Regions from separate parts of the Homo sapiens genome. Here region 1 is linked to region 2. Evidence: promoter capture Hi-C in human tissues and cell types (Jung and others, 2019). All regions are on one chromosome and are shown on one strand. The core of a region is centred on a gene start or on the middle of the fragment in contact, and the rest is flanking DNA. Distances in the headings are between cores, read along the strand shown.

Region 1 (3,293 bases), core at 631-3,130, 1.1 Mb after region 2:
TGGTATGGGACTAGGAAAAAATTTGCAAGGTTTGAAGGAACCGCTTCAAGCAGAAAGACAAAGTTCCCACAAAGGTTTAGGATATTGACAGGTGACAACATGCGGCCGGCCCTCGCTCCCTCTCAGTGCCTCCTTGGCCTTGGCGTCCATTCTGGCCATGCTTAAGGAGGCCTTCAGCCCGCCACTGCACTGTGGGAGCCCCTCTCTGGGCTGGCTGAGGCTGGAGCCAGCTCCCTCTGCTTGCAGGGAGGTGTGGAGGGAGAGGCGTGGGTGGGAACCGGGGCTGTGCGTGGCGCTTTTGGGCCAGCGTGAGGTCCAGGTGGGCGTGGGCTCAGTGGGCCCTGCACTCAGAGCAACCAGCCAGCGCTGCCGGCCCTGGGCAGTGAGGGGCTTAGCACCTGGGCTTAGCAGCTGCAGAGGGTGTGCCAGGTCCCTCAGCACTGCCAGCCCACCCGCGCCATGTTCGAATTCTTGCCAGGCCTCAGCCACCTCCCCACAGGGCAGGGCTCAGGACTTGCAGCCTGCCATGCCTGAGCCCCCCTGTGGTGGGCTCCCAAGTGTCCCAAGCCTCCCTGATGGGCACCGCCCCCTGCTCCACAGTGCCCGGTCCCATCGACTGCCCAAGGGCTGAGGAGTGCAGGCGTGCAGCACGGGATTGGCAGGCAGCTCCATCCGCAGCCCTGGGGTGGGATCCACTAGGAGAAGCCAGCTGGGTTCCTGAGTTGGGTGGGGACTTGGAGAACTTTTATGTCTAGCTGGAGGATTGTAAATGCACCAATCAGCACTCCGTGTCTAGCTTGGGGTTTGTAAACGTACCAATCAGTGCTGTGTCTTGCTAATCTGGTGGGGACTTGGAGAACTTTTATGTCTAGCTAGAGGATTGTAAATGCATCAATCAGCACTCTGAGTTTAGCTCAGGGATTGTAAATCAACCAATCAGCACTCTGTGTCTAGCTAAAAGTTTGTGAATGCACCAATCAGTGCTCTGTGTCTAGCTAATCTGGTGGGGACTTGGAGAGCTTTTATGTCTAGCTGGAGGATTGTAAATGCCCCAGTCAGCACTCTGTGTCTAGCTCAGGGTTCGTGGATGCACCAATCAACACTCTGTATCTAACTAATTGGGTGGGGACTTGGAGAACTTTTATGTCTAGCTGGAGGACTGCAAATGCACCAGTCAGCACTCTGTATCTAGCTCAAGATTTGTAAACACACCAATCAGCACTCTGTATCTAGCTCAAGGTTTGTAAAGGCACCAATCAGCACCCTGTGTCTAGCTCAAGGTTTGTAAATGCACCAATCAGTGCTCTGTGTCTAGCTAATCTAGTGGGGACTTGGAGAACTTTTACATCTAGCTAGAGGATTGTAAATACACCAATCAGCACTCTGTGTCTAGCTCAGGGATTGTAAATGCACCAATCACCACCCTGTCAAAATGGATCAATCAGCTCTCTGTAAAATGGACCAATCAGCTCTCTCTAAAATGGACCAATCAGCTCTCTGTAAAATGGGCCAATCAGCAGGATGTGGGTGGGGTCAGATAAGGGAATAAAAGCAGGCTGCCCGAGCCAGCAGCGGCAACCCGCTCGGGTCCCCTTCCACACTGTGGAAGCTTTGTTCTTTCACTCTTTGCAATAAATCTTGCTGCTGCCCACTCTTTGGGTCTGCACTGCCTTTATGAGCTGTAACACTCACGACGAAGGTCTGCAGCTTCACTCCTGAGGCCAGCCAGCAAGACCATGAACCCACTGGGAGGAATGAACAACTCTGGATGGGAGGAATGAACAACTCCAGACATGCTGCCTTAAGAGCTGCAACACTCACTGTGAAGGTCTGCAGCTTCACTCCTGAAGCCAGCGAGACCATTAACCCATAAGAAGGAACAAACTCCGGACACACCACCTTTAAGAACTGTAACACTCACCACGAGGGTCCACGTCTTCATTCTTGAAGTCAGTGAGACCAAGAACCCACCAATTCCGGACACAATATCATTTTTGATGGTGGCCATTGTTAAGCCTGTAGAACCTATACCTTTAAAATGGTTAACAGATAAGCCAATTTGGATAGAACAATGGCCACTAAGTAAAGAGAAACTGGAGGCTTTAGAGGACTTCGTTAATGAACAATTAGAAAAAGGACACATAGCTCCAACATTTTCCCCTTGGAATTCTCTAGTTTTCATAATTAAGAAAAAATCAGGTAAATGGAGAATGTTAACTGATTTAAGAGCCATTAATTCAGTTATACCACCTATGGGAGCATTACAGCCATAGCATCTCCTGCTATGATTCTAAAAAATTGGCCTTTAATAGTCATAGATTTAAAAGACTGTTTCTTTACTATCCCCTTAGCTGAGCAAAACTGAACGGTTTACATTTACAATTCCTGCAGTAAACAACCTGCAGCCTGCTAAGCATTTTCATTGGAAAGGTTGCCACAAGGCATGTTAAACAGTCCAACAATTTGCCAGACTTATGTAGGGCAAGCAATTGAACCTACTCATAAAAAATTTTCATGTGTTACATTATTCATTATATAGACAATATACTTTGTGCTGCCCCCACTTGAGAAATATTACTCCAATGTTATGATCACATGCAAAATTTGATTTCTCATGCTGGTTTAATTATAGCTCCTGACAAAATTCATACTACTAATCCTTACTCCTAATTGGGGACCTTAGTTAATGACATTACCATTGTGCCACAGAAAGTAGCCATATATAGGGATCAGTTGAAAGTGTTAAATGACTTTCAAAAATTACTAGGGGACATTAATTGGATACCACCTGCTCTAGGTATTCCTACCTCTGCCATGAGTAATCTATTTTCTATCCTTAAAGGAGATCCTAGTCTCACTAGCCCTCGACAATTAATAAAAGAAGCTGAAGTAGAGCTGCAGCTAATCAAAAAGCAAGTCCGTAAAGCTCAAATAAATACAATAGATCCAGAGAAGACTCTAGATTTGCTAATTTTTCCAACTCAGCATTCACCTTCTGGTGTTACTGTCCAAGAGCAGGACTTAGTAAAGTAGCTTTTTCTTCCACATACTAATTCACAGACTCTAACTCCTTGTTTGGATCAAATTGCTACTATGATAGAACATAGGAGAACTCAGATTGTTAAATTACATGAATATGATCCTGGAAAAGTTATTGTCACTCTCACAAAGGCACAAATACAGCAAGCTTTTGTAAATAGTCTTACTTGGCAAACCCGTTTAGCTCACTTTGTGGGTATTCTCGATAATCATTTTCCTAAAATGAAACTGTTTCAATTTTTGAAATTAACTAG
Region 2 (3,031 bases), core at 98-2,597:
TGGGCACTGGCGCGGCTCTACCCAGCTATGCAGTGCTTTCCCACACACTGGCCGCGGCCACTGGCTGCAGACCCGCCGCGGAAAGGGGGCGCCCTGAGTCCCGCTCGCAGGCAGCGCGCCCCGAGAGACCCGCTCTAAGGCATCCCCGCAACAACTCTGTGGGGGCATTCAACTCCCCCGTGCGCCGGTTAAGATTCCCCCATGCCTCCTGCAATGCACCAGACCAGGGAGGTAAACATCGAAGGCACCTGCATTGCGCCCCCACTGGGATGCGCTGTGCGCAAGAGACGGGGACCGTCTGCTGCAAAACCGGATGATCGGAGACGCAGGGAGTTAGGAGTGGGTTTTCTTAGGACTCACCTTATGTAGTTTCCACATGGCCCCCAGAGCCTTGACTTCGTGGCTGGAGTGTTTGCCCTCCTCCAAGCACTGGTAGCACACGGGCATCTTGCATTGCACGCAGTACATGCTGTGGTTCTCCAGCTCGTGGTCTGTGCAGGTGGAGACCTTGCGTGGGCTCAGCCTCCGGCTCACACGACCCTGGGCCGGGGGCACCAGGCGGTGCTTGGCTAGGGGCCCCCGGGGCGGGTGGCAGCGCAGGCGGCACGGATCGCAGTAGAAGACATCGCACTGTTCGCACATGACGGTGGCTTCCTTGGGCGCCTTCTCGCAGAGCTGGCACTTGAGGGCCGCGGCTTTGCTCTGCTGGTAGCGGTCAATTACCCCTTCCAGTACGCGATTCTTGGGGAAGCCGCGGAGCCCCCGGTCATCCAGGATGAGGCTGCGGTGACACTGGGGGCAGGTGATACAGGAGTTGCGGGGCACCGGGGCCAGGGCCGGTGACAAGTGGGTGGCCGGTGGCGGCATAGCCGGGGGAAACACGCGGACGCCGTTGGGGGACTTCTGGCACGGGGTAGTGGGGGCGCTGGCGAACCCCCCGTAGGAGCCATAGCCGCTGTCCGCCTCGCTGTATAGGCTCATCTTGTCCAGGTCCAGATAGTCATAGTCGGAGACCCCGGAGCCCGCGGCCCGATGGCTCTGGGGGGATTCAGACTCTGGGGTCTGCACCAGGATGTTGCGGGCGCACGCCTGACACAAATTGTGAGAGCAGGGCAGGATGATGGGCTCCCGATAGAAGGAGCCGCACACGGGGCATTTCAACTCCTCTTCCATCTCCTCCATGGGGACCGGTCTGGGAGGAGACAGCGACGGCTGCAGCGGGTGCCTGAGCTGGCGAGGTGGCCGACGGGCCCGTCTTGTCCAGCACCCTGGCCAGCGGCGGCGGCTGTGGTGGTGGTGCCTTCCCGCGCAGCACTGGCACGGACACCCAGAGAGGCGCTAGCTCTGTGAGCCGCAGCCGCGTAGCCGCCGCGCCGCGCGCCAGCCCGGACCGCCCCTACCTGCCCTCCTAGTCCCGCCCCGGCCCATGAGCAGCGGCCCATTGGGCGGGGGGCAAGAGATCGAAGCTCTCATTGGCCACCAGACCCGTCCGTCTCCTCGTCTCCGCAGGCCACAGGGGGTTCGGTAGAGTCTGAGGATAGGGCAGTCTTCGCTCGCGGCTGCAAGATCTCTGAAGGGGGCCGGCGTGCGGAGGCTAGGGGACCGGGAAGGAGGAGTTAGGCGGGATGATTCATCCTCGCCCGGCTTACTTCCGACCTCCGGTGCAGTCTCCCAGGAGCTGGGGGCGTGAGAAACCCCTCCCCGCAGCGAGTGGGCTGCCGGAGGGGGCTGGGGCTTCTCGCCAGCGTTTGCGTTTGGCTCCCAGCTCTGAGCTCCGCGCCCACCTACCGCGGGCGAGTGCTGCGCAGCACGGAGGACGCCCCTTCTCTTCCGCTGCTGGCAGCCTTCGCAGGCGTCTCACCCGGGCCTAGGCTTCTGCACGGCAGTGGGGCTTTTCTCCTTCTCCGTGAATCCGCTGACGCCGTGCCCTGGAGCTCCCCCATCCCGGGAGTCTGACGGCGCTGGCGCAAGCCCTGGCGACACTCTTGGCTTCTTTCATCCTGCGTCCCTCGTTTCCTAAAGAGCATGTATAAAGTCGATTTCCTAGTGTCGACATGAGATTCAACTGGGTAACCGATGGAAATGGTCAGCATTAGTCAGAATCTATGACCCCTTCGTTTCATGCTTTAAATTATAGCTCGGCCCAGAGGCCTCAGTGCCGTGGTGTGAACGTGCTTCCTTCCACGGATCCTTCTTCCTCCTCGCGGCCTCCCAAAGCACCTGGCTGAGCTTTTTCGAGGCCCGCTGGGCCTTTGGTTCGGTTGAGGCAAGAACAGTTTGTCTATTTCTGAGTGCCCGTAGTTTAGTAAAGCTCTGTAAATGAATCACTGTGTGACTGCGGAGTCTCAGTGTTTCACTCCAAACAGCATTATTCAACCCCACGTGCCCTGGGCATCTGCCATAGCTTACAGCATCGTGTGCCTTTCTGTTTCTTCCAACGAGGGGCATGGTGAGGCGGTGATTCTAGTGTTAGTCCCTGTACAAGGAGGGAGGGAGGGAGGGAAGAAGGGAAAGAGGGAGAGAGGGAGGAAGGAAGGGGGGGGGAAAGGAAAGGCGGAAGGAAGGGAAGAAAGGGAGGGAGGAAGAAGAAAAGGAAAGGAAAATCTTTGAGTCAAGTGACATTCTGAGGTAGTAACATTTGAAATAGTACATAGCCGGCTTTTGCTGAATGATTCATGAAGTAAAGGACAAAAACTCTTTGCAAGTTCTAGAAATATTCCAATTTTCCACCTTCCAGACAGGAGATAACTTGATTATATGCAGCTATGTTGATAATTTAAAAGTACTTTATTGTCCAGAAAAAAAATGGACATTTTATTACACTGCCCTTGTAGAAATTGTCCAATAAACTAGGTTATCTTTTCAACATCTTTAGTTGCAGTGAGAACAGTAGTTGATCATTGTGTGGGGGAATAAAGTCCCCATTGTTATTTAAAGCCATGTTAATCATAAATGTGACGTGATTTATTTTTAAGCTGGCTTTCAACTAGTTGAGACCAGAGCATCCAAAGGTATATGCACTCTGTTTACA

Evidence for each region. Contacts are between HindIII fragments. The study calls those that stand out against the background at their distance.
Region 1: a contact is called between a fragment that was not itself captured here and the fragment with the promoter of TRIM9 in region 2, in 1 of the 25 tissues and cell types used here (heart left ventricle).

What each region holds. Positions count from the first base shown.
Region 1 is chr14:52,166,488-52,169,780 of GRCh38, forward strand. No RefSeq gene overlaps it. Among named protein-coding and RNA genes, the nearest start is that of LINC02319, 43 kb to the left of the region's middle. The HindIII fragment of the contact is 3,055 bases long and covers 354-3,293 here.
Region 2 is chr14:51,093,758-51,096,788 of GRCh38, forward strand. TRIM9 (tripartite motif containing 9) reads right to left here and starts at 1,348. Exons shown (of 13, transcript NM_001387360.1): 1 at 361-1,348. The coding sequence starts at 1,182. RefSeq lists a silencer at 1,340-1,409. The HindIII fragment of the contact is 24,626 bases long and covers 1-3,031 here.